6 separate regions of the Homo sapiens genome follow, and all the other regions are linked to region 2. Evidence: promoter capture Hi-C in 16 types of primary human blood cells and fetal thymus (Javierre and others, 2016). All regions are on one chromosome and are shown on one strand. Each heading gives the region's core, a stretch centred on a gene start or on the middle of the fragment in contact. The rest is flanking DNA. Distances are from core to core; before and after follow the strand shown. Region 1 overlaps MAD2L1-DT (MAD2L1 divergent transcript). Region 2 holds the start of PRDM5 (PR/SET domain 5). Region 3 overlaps MAD2L1-DT (MAD2L1 divergent transcript). Region 4 overlaps MAD2L1 (mitotic arrest deficient 2 like 1). Region 5 overlaps MAD2L1-DT (MAD2L1 divergent transcript). Region 6 overlaps MAD2L1-DT (MAD2L1 divergent transcript).

Region 1 (2,702 bases), core at 136-2,635, 840 kb before region 2:
AGAATCATTTTATTTAATCCCTCATTAGCTCAAGAGTTAGATACTACTATTACCTGAATTAAGTTACAGAAGGAAGTTGAATAATTTAGCTAAGGTCACCCAGCTAGGAGAACTGGAGTCAAATCCAAGCAATCTAGATGGTACCAGAATATGAATCCTGAAAGCATCAAAGATCTGACTATATTTTAGATAACTCTAATTTGAGGCAAACTATAGTGGGTCCTTAATATTCCTCCATCCTTGCTATGTAACTCCTGAGACCCATTCAGCAATGGAAACCAATGGAGCTGAATGGCTGGAAAGTCACAGAATTGGAACAAGGAAAATAATCCAAAAGTGGAAGAAAAGAGTCCAAAACTGGAGGAAAAGAAACAAGAGGTAGGATCCAGGGTGCAATACTGGCTCATCTGGCTAAGAGTGGATGGCCAAAAGGGGTACCCTGACTAGGGCTGCAAAAACAGGAATTTTTTAAAAATTTTGTGCTTAAAAGATCTTGTCAATTTTCTACTTAAAAGATCTTCAGTGAACTAAGAGGAGGCATTAAACAAATATTCTGGCCAAGGGATAGAATGGCATTTGAAATAGCCTACTCTTTGTCCTGCCAATTTTATTGATAGCTCAGACAAAAGGAAATGAGAATATGCAATACAGCAGGAATGTAAAAAGATGACAAATTTGAGAGACATTTTAAAAATGTGTTGAGATGTGTTTGGTTGTACTCTGAAGAACAGCCTGGGTTTTGGGGGATCATGGTGTGGAGCTGTTATACATGGAGATGATATAGATAAGTTTGTGGCATTCGATTCATTTTCCTTCAAGTGGTTTTAGGCCAGGCAAAAAAAAAAAATTTTTTTTGAGGTAATAGCTAATAAAATGACACATTGAGGAAGAAGAGGCAGTGAAGGAAACTCAGAAGAAATGGAAAAGTAGGAGGCAAATTGTGAGAGGAATGTCAGAACCTATTTAGTGAATTTGGATTAGGTAGAAAAATACTATTTTAGTAGTTTAGTAAATAATTCAGCACAAATAAGAATGACTGAGGAAGAGTCACAGATTTTGTACTTGAAAGATTTTTGGTGAACTAAGAGGAGACAATTTGGGTCACACGGTAGGGTATAAAAGTCTTTTACAAGGAGTTTGGAAGTAAGGCTAAGAAGATAGAAGTAAAAGGTTTGCAAGAGAAATGGAGAGTGGAGAAACCACATAAGCAATTGCTGGATCTTGGGAATTTTATGTTTAGGATATTTAGAGGAAAGAGAGCAAAAGAAATATAAATACTGAAGTTGAAAGTTGGAAAGGCCTAACTAATAGAGCCAGACACCTGAGGCCACAGAAAGCAATGGCATCAAGGACCCAAGTAGAGAATAAACAGAAGAGACAATTCCCTCTTAGAAATTGAAAACAAGGAAGAAGGGAGATGTGAGGATGCAGATAAATTCTCATTTTTTCTTGAAATGCAAGTAAAGAATAATCTTTAGCTTCTCAGTGGAGGAGGAGGTGAGATAGGGAAGTGGAGGAAGGGAAAGATAATGTCACATAAGTGAAAAGAGTTGGAAATTTTTTTTTTTTTTTTTTTTTGAGACAGGGTCTTGCTCTGTCGCCTAGGCTAGAGTGTAGTGGCGCGATCTCGGCTCTCTGCAAGCTCCGTCTCCCGAGTTCATGCCATTCTCCTGCCTCAGCCTCCCGAGTAGCTGGGACTAGAGGAGCCCGCCACCACGCCAGGCTAATTTTTTGTGTTTTTTAGTAGAGACGGGGTTTCACTGTGTTAGCCAGGATGGTCTCGATCTCCTGACCTCATGATCCGCCCGCCTTGGCCTCCCAAAGTGCTGGGATTACAGGGGTGAGCCACTGCGCCACGCCAAGAGTTGGAAAGATTTTTAAAGCAGCCATTATGAGGAGTGGGATGATAAGTCAATGAAGGAGAAATAAATGGATATTTGTTTTCCTAAATAGATATTTATTGAGTACTATTTATCTTACAGTGCGGTGCTGTATGGATGCAAGAGGAAAAATCTAGCTGGGAATCTAGTTGGGGAATTATTACACAAAAATAGCTGCACATAAGAAGGTACAGGATGAGAAACAATTGAATGTATGCAGTAATTGCCAAACAAATTCAAAGATAGCAAAAGAAATATTCTTGGAGGATGTAAAACTTGAAGAGTTATAAACATTTTCCACAGTGTTAGGTATAGTATATGTTATAAACATTTTGAAGAGTACTTAGAACTTGAAGAGTGCTTAGAACTTAGGCAGGCAAAGATGGGTGTCAATTAGAGGTTTAACGGAGATGATTAAAGTCCAGTCTGGACCATAAAGTAAAGGTGGGGATAAAAACCTTTATAGGTATAGATGTGTAGAGAGAGGACGTCACAGGCACAGAACTTAAAAATCTATGGGACAAAATATGGAAGCATCAAATTAGCTCACTTTTCCCCAGGACAGAGTCTTCATGTGATCAGATTACATCTGGGTTCTTTTTCTAGAGAGCCTTGTGTGACAGGCTAAAAGTTTGGACTTTTCTCAGGAGACGTTAGAGAGACACTAAAAGTTTTTATAGAATTATATTGGGGACAATATAAAGTTGTGTTTTAGTAACGTTACTGTAGCACAGGTGAAGTACAGATTGGAAAGCTATAGTGACAGTCCAGGTCGAGGCACTTAAGACTTCACTATTTTAATTATCTTCACTATTTAAATTC
Region 2 (2,825 bases), core at 202-2,701:
ATTTTAACATTTGGCCATTTGGCAACTATTCAATACACCTCTAATTCAGATAAATTATTTATTCCTGTTTTTAACATTTGAACATTCTCGCCAACTCCCACTTGAAAAAATAAATAAGTGGTTTATTTTCTCCAATTTTGCCCTGAAGGATGACTGGAGATCATGTTGTCAGTGGAGCCCTTTTTGGGGATTACTAGCACTTTCTACTACTCTTCACCAGCTCTTTAGGTCAGAGGCAAAGGGGAGAGGGTTATATGCAGATGAAAGGCACCCTAGTGTCTCTACTGCATCCTCTGAACCTCTTGTTAACATACCTTACCTGAACAAGCCTGTTCTTGCCCAAACCTCCATCTTACAAAATATCTACTAAGAAAAGGGGGCGAGGACGGCTAGGACGACTCTAACAAGTTATAATATTATAAGATCAAATCCAAAGAGCTGGACTTTTCCTGTGGCCTCTCTTCCTAGGCCTTTGCTTTCAACATCCAACACTTTCAGGCCCTTCCTGTACGAACTGAGCAATGTGCTTCCTCTCATCACATGCCTGTAACTTTCTGGCTGGAGAGATCGAACCGATGTTGGAGACAAATTAAAAAAAAAAAGAGCGGAGAAAAAAGGTATAGACACTCAAAGATCATCTGGTTGGCACCTCCCTGAAGGCACATATAATACATTCCAGAAGGAGGGAAGGAAATCCTGGGCGTATGAATGAGATTCTACGGCCTGCGTGGAGCGGCGCTCTGGGCTGCTCCTCCCATCCCCGCATGGAAAGTTAGGCGTTTCTAGCCACATTAATTCATCCTAAAGGAAAAGAGGCGACAGCGGAGCAGCGTGCGCGCGGGGGAAAACACCCGCCCACGCGTGCCTTCGCCAACGCAAAGACGCAGCTCACACCCGTAACCGAGGAAGAGGGAGGCTCCCGCCGCGCTCACTTCCTGCGGGAGAGAGGAAAGACATCTTGCGGCAGGGAGGCCGGTGGCAGTTCCGCCCCTGGACCGGCCGGCAGCGGAGCGCACCCCGCCGCCACCTACGTGGCGCTGCCTGCTCGGGTGGCGCAGCGAGTAAAGGCCACCCCCGCCGTGCCCCGCGGTCCCCGGCCTTCCCACGGACGCCTGGCCCGGCCCGGGCGAGGGGCGACCGGGGTGAAGCCCGCCGCGCCCCGGGCCCTGCGGCAGGGCGACTCCGGGAGGCACAGGGCGCGCGAGGTGCAGGGGCGCGCAGGCCGCCGCCGGGTCACCCACCTTTCGCACTCTGCGGGCCGTGTAGAGCCCCATGCCGTCCTGAACCCGGGAGGACTTCAGGGAGAACCTGTCCGGCACGTACATGCCCAGCATTTTCCCGGGCGCGGCGGCCGCCGCCTCTCTCAACACCGGCGCTTAGCGCCCGGCAGGCGGCACATCGAAATTTGGGGTGCCAGGGTAGAGGGGAGAAACCGGCAGGGAAGGAGGAAATGGAGTTTTCCTCCCAGAATCCCCACCTCCCTGCCGATTCCAGGATCCCCCGCGGCTCAGCCCCTCCTCGTCCCGGGTCGGGCTCGGCCCGGATCCGTTCCTGCCATTCCTGCTGCGGGGGCGCGGGGGGCGCGGGCCTGGGCGCTGCGGGCGCCGGGACGCCGCTCGCTGATTGGCCCGAAGTTGGCGGCTCTGACCCGCGCCCGGGCGCGAAGCCCGGAGCAGGGCTGACCCCAGGGCCTCAAACCCGGAGGCCCGCGAGCTGCGCGGGCCGTCAGCACCCCTAGCCCCGGCGCGGCGGCGTGCGTTCCCGCCTTTGTCCAGCTCTGGGTTTTCAAACCTTGCCCCGCTGAACCATTACTCCCTGTAGGGGAGTCTCGCTTGCTTCTCTTCAGATGCAAAACGAAATGGACCTTCACACAGCTGGGGCATCCTCCAAAACAACTTTATCAAGTTCCTGACTCTGAAAGCCAGCTTATTGCCGACTACTGAGAACGAACCCTGCGGTCTAGGAAATTTCCGTGCTTCTCACATTTGAGTTATGCGTCTTTGCTTTTTTTCACGTTTGTTGCAGAGGCTAGAACTTAATAAGGGATCGCAAAGTATGTTGATTAACGTACGGAAAAATATGTTGCAAACAATTTAATGTTTTAAGCACTAGAAACTAGATATTTTATGGTAACATAACCTCTGGGAAGTTCTTATACTTCTCAAGGTACAATATTCCTGAGACCTCCCTTGCTTGATAATCATTAGACGTATTACGGATTTTCAGACATACGGAAGTGGATTTGTGGGAGACAGGAGGGGACACCCAAACAATAGCATCTGGTGTCACAACAATGCAATAAAGTCACAAGTCTTGTTTTAGTGTTTTTAATAAGCTGTTAGGCTGTGCAGTGTGCCCAGGACCTTTAAAAGCCTGTTTCATCCTTCAAAGTGATCCTGGGGTCATCTACTCATTTCTCTTGATATTTATGGTAATTTTCTACTCTAGGGTCTTTTCTCGGAAACCATTTGATGTTCTTAATTGATGTTCTCATAAACCATTAAAAGCACACACAAAAGTTTGACAAAATTACAGACTACACACACACACCATGGAAACGATTCCTGTTTCTGCAGGAAACCCTTGGAACATAGTTCCTAAGCAGATTTTTTTTTTTTTTTTTTTTTGACAGGGTCTAGCTATGTCTCCCAGGTTGATCTTGAACTCCTGGGCTTAAGGGATCCTCCGGCGGCGTTGGCCTCCTGAAGTGCTGGGATTACACACTTGAGCTACCACACCCGGCCCCTATGTAGATTTTGATTCAAGTTTGGAAAAAGGTTTAAAAAACAAGAACAAAAGGCATTATGGGAAAAAAAAATCATGTA
Region 3 (2,793 bases), core at 288-2,787, 770 kb before region 2:
ATTGTACATGTTTAATAATATTAAAATATGATATAAACATTGTCTATGTCTAATAATATTAAAATGTTATTAACATCACCGTGAACATTCAATATGCAACTTTATCTTTCCATCTTTGGCACCTGAGGAAACAAGTAGGTTTCCTTTCTTGGTGTGTGTAATGTGACATATACCTGCCATTGGACTACTGTCACAAAGTTACCAACTTAAGCCAATAGTTTTCCCTTCCTCTTTTGCAAAGTAGTTGATTATTAGGGAATTGATCTCAAATGACTTAAGTTTAAAGCTTTGTGGAATAGCTCTGTGTGTATGTGTGTGGTTGTGTGTGGTGTGTATTTGGGGAAAAGCTTATTAATATCTGTTATTGATCTCACTGTCAATTGATGTGCTTACTCAACTGAATTGTGGCAATCTTATTATCTATTGCTACATGTGCTGTGAGAATGCAAAGAGTTGCTTATCAAAGCCTGGCTTGTCATAAGATTAACTTTTTGTTTCTATTCAAATATAAAGATGGCAACAATGAAACACTCTTGTAAAATTATCTTTTTTTCTACTGTATTTCATTATGGGGAAAGAAAAATTTTAAAGGCATTTTTCAAAAGACTATAATATATTTCACCTAAATAAATCCCTCTCTTTAAAAACATGTATATATAGCATATGTATTTGTGTATAAGCAGAGGTTTTGTTTATGTCTGTGTATACAATATACTTACCTCTTTTCATTACAGGATAGAATGCAAATCTAGGAAATCCTCTCACAGGGGATTATCTTTTAACATATTTGAGTCAATTTTAGGAAAGCAAACCACAAAACTTGATTAAATTACCAACTTTATTTGATTTTGTTTATTTTTAATGAATTCTTTTGTGATTTTTGTCTGGATAACATTCAGGATACATACTGTACCTTTTGGAACATAACCATCAACAAATTGCAAACTTCTGCAACTTCGACATTTCTGAATTATCCTTTTGCTGAACTTTTTACAAAATCACCAAAAAAATCAAGAAAATATCATTTAGCAGGACCTTGTATAACTTTTATACTTATATTTGTTATAAGATCTGGGAACATTGATTTCCAGTATAAACCCAAGTATTTTTATTAAAAACTTGTGTTTCTGTTGTTAGTTTGAGAGCATCAAATATCCTATCTGTTTACTCACTGCTATTTTCTCAGTCCCTGGAATAAAACATATGAGTAAAAGAAGAATGAATTCTAGATTTTCCTAAAGTCATAGTAATAGATAGGCTTTTTAGTTGTCACAGATCTCATCATCATAAGTTATCAATTGGTGAATAGTATTTTATATTCAACATGTACCTTCATGTACAAGATGGCCCTTATAAAGAACATATAAGATATGAAAAAAGATACCCAGAATATGTCTATGTTACTGATGAAAAAGTTAATGTATGTCATAATCAGACCAGAATTCAGATCTTCTCAGCTGTGTTTCACTGTACTTTTCATTGTACTGCCTCGATTAGAGATCTGCTGTAGCTTATAATCATATGGACTACTAATCTTTATAATATCTTCAGAGAGAGATGTTGTTGTCTGTTTATGATCTATTCCAATGTATAATCATCTTCATTGATCAACAATTTAACTTATAATTTAACCAAGTTACTTGACCAAAATTTAAGTTCATTTCTTCATAAAAGAACTCATGCATTACAACAGAAAGTAAGTTATGCTTTGCACAGAATACTCTTTATATACTTACAGCATTTAAAAATAATTTCTTTTCCTTTTTTCAAATGTCTTTAATTTTTAAAAAATAAAACATACATTCTTTCTTGTAGTAATTTTTATTACATTAGAACTTGTGTTTCTCCTTTCTCCTCTGCCCTCAATATTTGTATCTCCACTTGATTTTACACACTTCTTTCAAATTCTGTTTCCCACTATTTCATATTCAGAATCTTAATTGACTTTCTACAGCGTGGACAAATACATCCTTAGCCTGGCATCCAAAACCTTAAGTGATACAATCCAACCTACAATTGCAACCTTATTTTTTTCAACTCATTTGTGTGACTTATACATAATTGAGCTTCAGCCTGAACTAGAATGGACTTAGGAAGTTGTGATTTTTAACATTTGAGATGTTGATATTGAATAAGTATGCCCAAAGGTCCATGGAGTCCAGTTATTATTGAGGCACTCTTTGTATTGTAAGAATTGCAAGCTGATGTGAATGTGAAAACAGCACTCAAATTGTAGTGTACCCACTATACACAAGTCTTGTGTAAGGGGTTTCAAATATTTTGGTCTCAGGAATCCTTTACACTTTTAAAAATTATTGAGCCCTCCAAGGAGCTTTTAGTTAAGCAGGTTATATCTATAGATATTTACTCTATTAGGCTGGTGCAGTGGCTCATGCCTGTAATCTCAGCACTTTGGGAGGCTGAGACAGAAGGATTGCTTGAGTCCAGGAGTTCGAGACCAGCCTGGACAACATGGCGAAACCCCATCTCTACTAAATATACAAAAATTAGCTGGGCATGGTGGAGTGTGCCTGTAGTCCCAGCTACTTGGCCTGAGGCAGGAGAATCCCTGGAACCTGGGAGATGGAGGCTACGGTGAGCAGAGATAGCGCCACTGCACTCCAGCTTAAGTGACAGAGCAAGACCCTATCTCACAAAAAAAAAAAAGCTCTTAATAAGAGAAAGTCAATTTAAAAATAAATAATAAATAAATTTTGAGGCCTCCAAGAAGCTTTTGTTTAAGTAGGTTGTATCTATAGGTATTTACTCTTTTAGAAATTAAAACCAAGAACT
Region 4 (3,089 bases), core at 234-2,733, 870 kb before region 2:
TTAAATCTATAAAGTGGGGATATCAATTCTCACAGGGTTGTTGCAAGGATTGAGATAATGCATGTAATGAATGAATTTGAAGACTGATCCCTTCCCTGCCCACAAACTGAGCTAAAGATGTTCTATAAAGGATTCAGACTCCCCAGTGTTTCTTCATGGTTTTGCTTTATGGGTCTCCTCTGGGGCGATGGAGGCATCAGCGGAGTTGTAGAATTTCCATTTTGGATGCAGTCCTTCTCTCCCCACCCTCTTCTCCCTCACAGCCCTAAATTGAGGTTTGGGGGCTGTTCCTTGCTCCAGAGGACTCCTCATTTGGAACTCAGACTTAATTTCCTTTATCTCATGGCTCTCCCCATGTCCCATCATCAGTTTCTAAGACCACAGCTTGTGGCCCAAGTCTTCCATTTCCCCACTAACCCCAACCTCCATTCATTTAGGAGTCAGCTGAACAGATGTAAAGCACTTCAGTGGTGCCTGGCATACAGTAGATGATCAATACCCATGAATTTCCTTTCCTAGACTTGGAGGCTGTAAGCTTTACAGCCTGTTTTTAAAGAGCTGTACTGACTCTTATGAGTGTGAACACAGTGATCCAATAACTGCATGTTAGATATGAAATATTTTGCACATCACAGACCCAATCTTTAAAACCACTAGCATCTGTACTTGGTCAGTGAGACTGCCATTTCAGAAAGAAATTCATATCCATGTCTAGGCATCCACTAGATATGTCCATATCTAGAAAGTTTTTTAAAGTGTTTGGACTCTTTCCCTTGCAAGGAAATGGACTATGGGTGGTCCAGCTTATATTTGGGATGCCTTTTTCCACACAGATAAAATTCCAAGAAAATAAGATTTTGATCTCATGTAAGTTCCTTTGTGCAAACAAGCTTGCATAGCAAAATGGTGCAGATAAATGTAGATGAAATGGGCTTTGTACAAGTAAATGTAACTATATTATGTTTCTCTGGTATAAAAATAGATCACATGGTGGAGGACAAAAATAGGTGACATGGTAACATAAACCAACTTGTGTAATCAGAGGGTCAACTCTGACATTTTTCACTCTAGGCCTTTTCTAATAGTCTTGTTGCTAGGGCTACAATGTTTTTGCCAGATTGGAACAGAATTGTCAACTCTAATGAAGATTAAGTAGCTTGCCCAACTACGTTTGTTTTTTTTTTTTTTTTTAGCCTCAGTGAATACTGCTGGCTTTAAAAGTCATAATTATGAAGAATGGAAATATCTCTAAAAGATCTATTTTTAAAAATATATAACTAATAAAATTTAAAATTGAGTAGACAGTTTCCATTTCACAGCTATTCCAATATAAACTTTTATCAGTCACATTGAACAAAATAACTAGAAATATTTCATACATTTAAAAAAAGAATAAGAAATTATTTACAAGTTAAGCCGCAAACAATTCACCAAAAACTGAGTAATTAAGGTTACTTAACAAACAATTCTTCTGATTAGTTGGAAAATTGTTTCATTACTGTTCACAAATTCATACCTGATTTACTCTGTAGACAATATAGATTAGGCATAGGATAAAATCCTCTGTATTTGGTTCCTCCCAATCATTGGTCAAAGTCATCTGACAACAGACTATCTGAGGAAAGTGTAAATACAAAGTCACCCAATAAAACATGAATAAGTTTTGCAAAGCACAGTAAAGGAAAACCAGTTTGTTCTGAACACTTTATTGCTAAAAGGATGTAAAGGGTAAGAGGAAAAAGGTGACGAAACACTCCTTTTGATATGCTTGTTGGGGAGTCAGGATGAACTTCCTTGGCTAGGGATAGAAGGAAGAGATCACCTAAACTTCAAAAACCACAATACAATTTGCATACTTCCTTGGCCAGGGATAGGAGAGACCACTAAACTTCAAAAACCACGACACAATTTGCATGCCCATTGACCCCCAGTTTTACTTGTGCACAAAAGCATGAGAATTAAATAAAAATTCATGTGAAGTGACTAGTAAATAATAAATGCTAAGTGTTTATTCCCCTAATGTATTTATATATTTGTTGCCAGGAATTCCAATGCTGAGTAACCTTGCTTTTCCAATAAGCTTACAGCCTTTAGAACCAAAAGAAAGTCATCTTAATTTGAATATTACAGCATTAGTGACATCTGGTGGAAAATATAAGAGTTACAAAGTAGCATTACATAGCTATTCTGATCTTTCATGTAAATTTTAGATAAATTTTACATACTAAATGAAAACAAGATGAAGAAATGGTCTATGAAGTTATCTACCTTATTGTGCTAATAATCTTTGAATCTATATGCTAAAATATATAGGAAGTCAGTATAATTAGCATTATACTAATAAAAACATTTTTCAGCATGCATGTCTATATAGTGAAAAAATGATTAAAAATAGGCATGGGCTCTTTATCCTATTGTGAGTCTCATAAAAAGGGTCTCTTTTTTAAAGGAGAGCCCATACCTCTCTTTTTATGGCATCACATGCCAAAGAACCTCCCTTAACAAGTTTTCAGATCAAATTGTGAACTGTGGGGTGTGTTAGGAAGTATGTCAAGAAAATAGCTGGTTGTGCTTCAGAGAATATGGAATTTAGGTATATTTGGGAGAGACATTCTGTTTGAGATACTATGGATGGAGGCAACAAACGATGTTTTACAAGTGAGCTTTAAATATTACGGTATCAAATGCTCTGAACTAGGGAGGGGTTCAAGTATTTGTGACCAAAAGAGCAAACTGTGATCTGTTACAGGACTGGTAAGCTACAACCCTGGGGCCGAAGCAAACAGCCATGTTTTTTTCTTATTGGAACACACTCACGCTCATTCATTTATGTATTGTCTATAGCTGCTTTCAGCCTCGAGTAGGTGCAAGAGACCATATGCCTTCAAAAGCAGAACTATTTACTACCTGGCCATTTACAGAAAGTTTGCCAACCTCTAGTCCATTAGATAACTGTCATCAAACTTCTCGGTGCCATTCCCACCACCTCCATGGGAGGAGTATACTTCCTGGTCCCATTAAAGTTAGGCTTGACCTTCACTTGCTTTGGTCAGTGTGAAAAAGCTGGCCTTCAGAGTCCTGACTAACCA
Region 5 (2,889 bases), core at 171-2,670, 790 kb before region 2:
CAAATCAATGGAAATTTAGATGCATTTTTGTTTCCTTAAAAGTCCTATAAATGTTGATAATTTTGACATCATGCTGTTTTGGGTTTCATAATTGTATGATAGAAAGTATTTGGGGAGGAAAAATAATTTATTTTCCCTGAGTGTTCTGTAGGTGGAAACAGACCATTTAGATAATATTAATATATAAGACTTATCAGGTGCTCATAATGTCAACTATTGTGCTGCATGCTGCACATTTATTATCTTATTTATTACTGAAAACTGCTCCATGACAAAAAAGTTCTGTTGTTATTTCCCTAATGAAACTCAGAGAAATTGGTAATTTTTTTCAAGATCACACAGCTATTAAGGTGGTAGAGCTAGGATCTGAATCTAGAACTCAGACCCTTAACCCATACTGCCTCATTATTTTGGTTGATATATGAATGCTTTTAGGTGCCAATTACTGTGTAAGTTGAATATTTCTGAGGCCGTAGCTGCTTTGGAAAGCACAATGTCTGTCTTCATTCATAATAAGAAGATTTAATAGTGTTATTCTAGTTTTTTGGGTTATGAAGAGAATATATATGAACAAAATATATCTCTAAATGCATATGGTCTGTGACAGAAGAATATATACATGTCTGTCAATAAAATAAAATATATATTTAGCAATTTCTAGGCCTGATCATAATTATTTGTGTAGTTTCTAGATTCAACGAAATGATATAATCAATGTAATGTAACCAGACTGACTCTCTCTGTTACATTTTCAGGAATTTTAGAACATAGCGAAATGATGATTAGTGATTCAATTTATTTTCTAGAAGAAATAGATATGCCTCCTCTGTGACAGAAATTATATATGATCTTCCACTCTTGTATCAAGCCCATGCCCTCAAAAGTGCTCCAAGCATTGTTACTTTCCTGGATATCATGTTATACTATGAAAGTGTTCAGTGGGAAGTTAAGGATTCCACATTTTTTAAAAAATTTCTTTTATTGGAGAGTCATCAGGGCCTTCCATATACAATGTACATTAGTTTTTCAAAAGGAGTATAGATATGTTTTATTTCTCAGATTTATTTGAAGTGGACTGAGTCATAGATCAAAATTGGAAAACATCGATTTAGAATGAGGAAGGATTAAATTTATCCAGAAAAAAGCAGGAATAAACACACCATATTAAAAGGTGGGTTTATAATTTATTACAGGTGGGCCTATCTACATGTGTGTATATAGAAAATTTTATGTTAATTTAAAGCAACACTTATAGATGAATTAACAATTAGCAAATAATAAAGCTAGTAATAGAGGAAATATATGAGAACATTTAAGTCATGTTGCAGGGAGATTTTAACAGTTAAAAGTATCTTCCTGTTTCATAGACACGCAGACTTATAAACCAGACATAAATATCTACTTAAGACAGTTCAGTCCTGTTTAGTATAAGTCATGATTATGTGATTTTAGGTCATACAAAGACTCAGAAAGAAAAATACCTTAATTGTACTAGCGAATAATAGTGACAGCCTATAATGATGAAACATTGTTTCTAAGGGTAAAAATACAATTTTATGGTTACAATGGCTGTCCTCAATACATTGGTTGACATTAAATGTCAGAGTATCTAAAACTGTTCATGTCTCCAGGAGCCAGTCCTTACTGAGTTATAGTGAGAGGTATAAGAATTCCATTTGACAGAATGTCACTGATGAAATCGATCTAGAATCTTTACAAACTGCTGCTATTTTTTCTTTGCTTCCTTCAAAATTTCTGGACTTTCTACTCAGTAGATACATCCGGAAAACGATGGGACGAAATTAATGTGGGATACAGTAATACAGTGGGTAGTCAATGAGAAATAAATAAAATATTTGGGGTCTGCAAAGAAAAGAAATGACAAAAAGAAAAATAAGACCTTGTTTTATTCAGGGATGTGACACTATCAGTGTAATAGGCAGACATTTTAAATACTATAAATGACCTAAAGTTGTTATATAATTATGGATAATTCATTAATTTGGAGGAACATATATCATGTTTTTCAGTGATTCATAGAAGAAAACATTTCCATGGTCACAAAAATCTATTTCTCAAAGAAAATATATACAGATTTCAATGGCTCAGTAAAAAGACATTCATATCCCAAGGCAGGATTTAGTGAAATTTTTACTGCTATGTGTTGAATGAAGATCTCTGTAATATTTGTCTGTGTTCAGGCTTATCAGAGGTTAAATGCTGAAGGTGCTAATGCCAAAAAAGTTATCACTTATCTGTTGTCATTTGAAGGGAAATACTTAGAGTTTCAAGTATTATTTTCTGGGAATTTCAGGATTTTCTTGGAAATCTGGCTTTTTAGAATTATAGATATGAAAAATTTGTGTGGTGGTAATTTGATCATGAGATCAACAGGAAATGACATAAAAACATTTCTAAAAGTCTTACATAACTTTGATTCATCTGGTATAAAGGTTAAATTATTTTTTGGATCTTAGAAAAAGAAAATAATTATGATTACCTTTGGCATTTATTTCAATCAACATAAAGCATTTACATTATATGACATGCTTAATTAAAAAAAACAAAAAAGTTTACATTATCCAGAAACTTTAATTTCTATTACAATTTATTTTTCGTGAAAACACTTTCTTGTTTCTTGTAGGAAAATATATTTTCTGGGATTGGAGTCACTATTTTGAGCCTTTCACAGATGTGGTTGTTTCCTACCACTAGTACACCTTCTTATAATAAACAGCCACAAAAGGCTAGATGCCACTGGCTGTATGGACCTGAATTTTGAGTAAGAACCCTTATAGATTTCTTGAAGCCTTTGCAGGGATCAAGAATATCTACAACCACCTAAAATATGCTAATACAGTTTGTCGCTTTGTGGCATGATATTGAATA
Region 6 (3,123 bases), core at 320-2,819, 810 kb before region 2:
AGTATTTATTTAGTCTTGCTACTTTTTTCTTATTTCTTCCCTCTTTTCTTTATGTAGTATTTGAGATAATGAGTAAATTATGTAAACTAAATATGCTATTTCAGTTTCAAGCTTACATTATTGCTTTTAGCCTGTAGCTCAAATCAGGATCAATTGAAGATTCTTATTTCAAAGACGGTCCTTAAAGGCATATATTCAGTCATTTATATGGGAACTCCTTCCAACTTTAACTGATTAAAAAAATTGAATGCTGTAATAGCCCTTTAAGCTCCTCTATTTGGTTGACTCTTCCTGTTATGATGACTGATTTTTCATTTGTATGAAATTTCTAGAATTTAATATTTCAGTTTTGTTTTCTTTGGGATAAAGGAGCAGGATGTTATTCTACTCATATGGTCTCAGTGGATTGTATAGAGGGATTATTGTATAGAACTATGTTTCTGACATCTTGTGGAGGGGGCTTTCTTTGTCCATGTTGACCTCTTTGTCTCATGAGGCATATTGTTGTAACTGAATTGTTGGGTCTAATTCATACCAGGAAATACATGTCTTATGTGGCCACTGTGTGTTGCTGCAGTGTGTGAGCCGAGAAAGCTGTTGGGCTGTAAGTTTTCCTTTAGAATGTTTGCAGAACCCTCAGGTACTATTGAAAGTGAAGGATAAGACTGATCTCAGGAAAACAAAGGTTTTATTACACTTTCTCAAGTAATGAGGCTATCTACAGAAAATAAAAAAACAAAGCAGTAAAAGTCATACATGTGGTGCCATGTGCCAACAAGATAAATGGCTGACCAAATATAAAAAAGTCCCCAACGGGTTGCTGCTAGCCTAAGGTTATCTCCTCATGCTGCTGTGGATCTTTCAGAGGAAAAATCAAACACCTGCGTCACATCAAACAGGTATATGCACCTGAGGTTTGTGCATTTCCCCTATTAACCCGGCCTCTATTTTCAAATAAGTACAGTAGGCTGTAAAGGTTGCAAATTAAACACTGGCTTGCAGCAGATGAAGTGTGAGACGCTTGACTAAGCTACCACATTGTCATCATTATCCTCACCTTATTTTGGACCTAAAAATTAAAGGCAACAGTGGTTAAATATCACTAGAGATATTGCAATGTTATACTCATATAATAGCAATTTTGTGAATAAATTTTTTTTTTTATTTTTCACCTGAATTTATGAATATCTAAGGTTTGATACTAAAGCAGATTCTCTCAAGTTCTTGAATGTTCTTATTGGGTTAAAAAGTCTGGACAGACCTAAGATAAAATATCACGCCACTATGACAGTCTACTACATCTGTGTTCTTGTGAAGCAGCAAACTGGTGAAATTGTCAGGGATGGAGCTAAAGAAGGTCAGTAGAGTGACCACAATTGACAACACTGAATCCAAAAGAATACATGTCCAGCTTCATTTTCTTGGTATTTCTACCCTGGGATCAGAGCAACTGTGCTATAGCATTGGCAACATTCAGAGCACTGTCCCTTTTCGTTGGACTCACAAGAAATGTGTTGGACCTGAGCCTTTTGGACTCAGGAGGGAAACTTGAGTCCATACCTAAGGTGTAAACAACTGTTACACTCCATTTCAAGAAATTTTATAGGAATTATTTTATAGTAGCAGGATACTCTGAGAATAATCCCAATATTTATAAAAACTTAATGGCTAAAAAGTAGACTCAAACTTCCATTTTAAAGGTTTAAAATTTTTTCCTAAAACTTAAAAGTAGGCAGTGAAATTTGGTTGTATCTTTGGAGAACTCTTTCACCACATAAAGTATTATTTTAAAACTCCCCGTAAGGGGCCTTCATCGCCTGCAAAAAAAACAAAAAACAAAAACAAAAACAAAAAAAACTCCAAAATCATTTTTCTGGCTGAGAAATTAAATTTTCTGTTTAATAAAATAAGTTGGGTGTCATTTTAGTAACATTGCTCCTATAAAGTTATTTTTTATTTTTTTATTTCTAAGTCTGAATTGGATTTGCTTGAAGACTTCCCAAATCAAAATTGAAGGCACTGCAGATTAAAAAGGATTAATTTTTTGGGAACATGTACATTATTTCACTATAAGTGTTTGCACTTATAAAACTGTAAGACTAGACCAAACTAGGAGGGAAATAAATATGTGAATTTCTCTTTATTTTATACTAGAAATAAGACTGAAAATTGAATGGATTTGATTAGGCTTGGCACAGTGAAATCTGGGCTGAACTGCTGGTATTCCACTACTAAGGTTATGATAGATTAGATAAACCAGATTTGGGGAATTTATTTAAGCTGCTTAAACACACTTGGCATTTGGTCAACCATCCTATCACTGGGCAGTGAATAAGATGTGAAATGTGAGAAATAGGATGATTTCCTTTCTGGAGTCCTAAAGAGTTAGTAGGAGCCCAGACTGTAGGCAGAATTAAATGAACAAACAGGATTGCCTTCTGTAGAAGATGAGATGCTCTTGATACATTGAGGCAAATCAGAACTTAGTGGGTGTTCAGCTACTAGGGAAGCTCCTGTGAGAGGTCCCAAGTGACAACAGAGGAATGTCTGGAACCAGAGGTGAGAAGCTATAGCCAAGACATATTTGTTGGACAGTGTAATCCTTCCCTGGGAATTCTTAAAAACACAAAGGTTAAGAAATCTTAGTAGATGTGGACTTCCTATAACACACAGAATGGGATCTCACACTAAGATAATTGGACTTTTGTTAAAAAAAATTAATCAATGATAATTAAAATAAATGTTAACCATAGCAATTTAGAAAAGAAAGAGATTTATGGGACTTACAACAACACATATGGACTTAAATCACACATATGGCTTGCAAAGCAAAAAATTACTTAAGAGATGTGGAATAAAATTTCAAAAATTCATCATATCAACTTATTGCTGAAAATGCAAGAATTTTCTTATCTGTTTTACTGGCATAAATTTGAGAAGAATAATTTTTCATAACCATATAATGAATGTCATGTGTGAGATTATAGATTATAAACTAAAAATTATTAGGTTTTCATATTATTTTCTCAAAGCTTTCATATTTTTCTTTTATGTACATAATTGAACAATAAAGTAGTAGCAAAAATAGACTGCCTCAGAATTATGTATGTAACATATTTGTAA

What was found. The method cuts DNA at HindIII sites, captures the fragments that hold promoters and counts their contacts. A CHiCAGO score of 5 or more calls a contact.
Region 1: a fragment that was not itself captured here is called in contact with the fragment with the promoter of PRDM5 in region 2 in 5 of 17 cell types (erythroblasts, endothelial precursors, M2 macrophages and 2 more); the score reaches 9.5 in erythroblasts.
Region 3: a fragment that was not itself captured here is called in contact with the fragment with the promoter of PRDM5 in region 2 in 2 of 17 cell types (erythroblasts and endothelial precursors); the score reaches 7.1 in erythroblasts.
Region 4: a fragment that was not itself captured here is called in contact with the fragment with the promoter of PRDM5 in region 2 in 1 of 17 cell types (erythroblasts); the score reaches 6.3 in erythroblasts.
Region 5: a fragment that was not itself captured here is called in contact with the fragment with the promoter of PRDM5 in region 2 in 2 of 17 cell types (M2 macrophages and monocytes); the score reaches 5.3 in M2 macrophages.
Region 6: a fragment that was not itself captured here is called in contact with the fragment with the promoter of PRDM5 in region 2 in 1 of 17 cell types (erythroblasts); the score reaches 5.7 in erythroblasts.

Annotation. Positions count from the first base shown.
Region 1 is chr4:120,077,744-120,080,445 of GRCh38, forward strand. The region is part of intron 1 of MAD2L1-DT (MAD2L1 divergent transcript); the gene reads left to right. Among named protein-coding and RNA genes, the nearest start is that of MAD2L1-DT, 12 kb to the left of the region's middle. The HindIII fragment of the contact is 3,295 bases long and covers 1-2,702 here.
Region 2 is chr4:120,921,275-120,924,099 of GRCh38, forward strand. PRDM5 (PR/SET domain 5) reads right to left here and starts at 1,452. Exons shown (of 16, transcript NM_018699.4): 1 at 1,242-1,452. The coding sequence starts at 1,334. LOC105377399 (a long non-coding RNA gene) reads left to right here and starts at 1,662. Exons shown (of 2, transcript XR_001741804.2): 1 at 1,662-2,053. The HindIII fragment of the contact is 4,297 bases long and covers 1-2,825 here.
Region 3 is chr4:120,151,082-120,153,874 of GRCh38, forward strand. The region is part of intron 3 of MAD2L1-DT (MAD2L1 divergent transcript); the gene reads left to right. Among named protein-coding and RNA genes, the nearest start is that of MAD2L1-DT, 86 kb to the left of the region's middle. The HindIII fragment of the contact is 2,384 bases long and covers 346-2,729 here.
Region 4 is chr4:120,054,303-120,057,391 of GRCh38, forward strand. It overlaps MAD2L1 (mitotic arrest deficient 2 like 1), which reads right to left. Exons shown (of 5, transcript NM_002358.4): 5 at 1,321-3,089. Among named protein-coding and RNA genes, the nearest start is that of MAD2L1, 11 kb to the right of the region's middle. The HindIII fragment of the contact is 1,190 bases long and covers 889-2,078 here.
Region 5 is chr4:120,133,643-120,136,531 of GRCh38, forward strand. The region is part of intron 2 of MAD2L1-DT (MAD2L1 divergent transcript); the gene reads left to right. Among named protein-coding and RNA genes, the nearest start is that of MAD2L1-DT, 68 kb to the left of the region's middle. The HindIII fragment of the contact is 2,947 bases long and covers 1-2,889 here.
Region 6 is chr4:120,112,512-120,115,634 of GRCh38, forward strand. All of the region lies in intron 2 of MAD2L1-DT (MAD2L1 divergent transcript), which reads left to right. Among named protein-coding and RNA genes, the nearest start is that of MAD2L1-DT, 47 kb to the left of the region's middle. The HindIII fragment of the contact is 2,921 bases long and covers 110-3,030 here.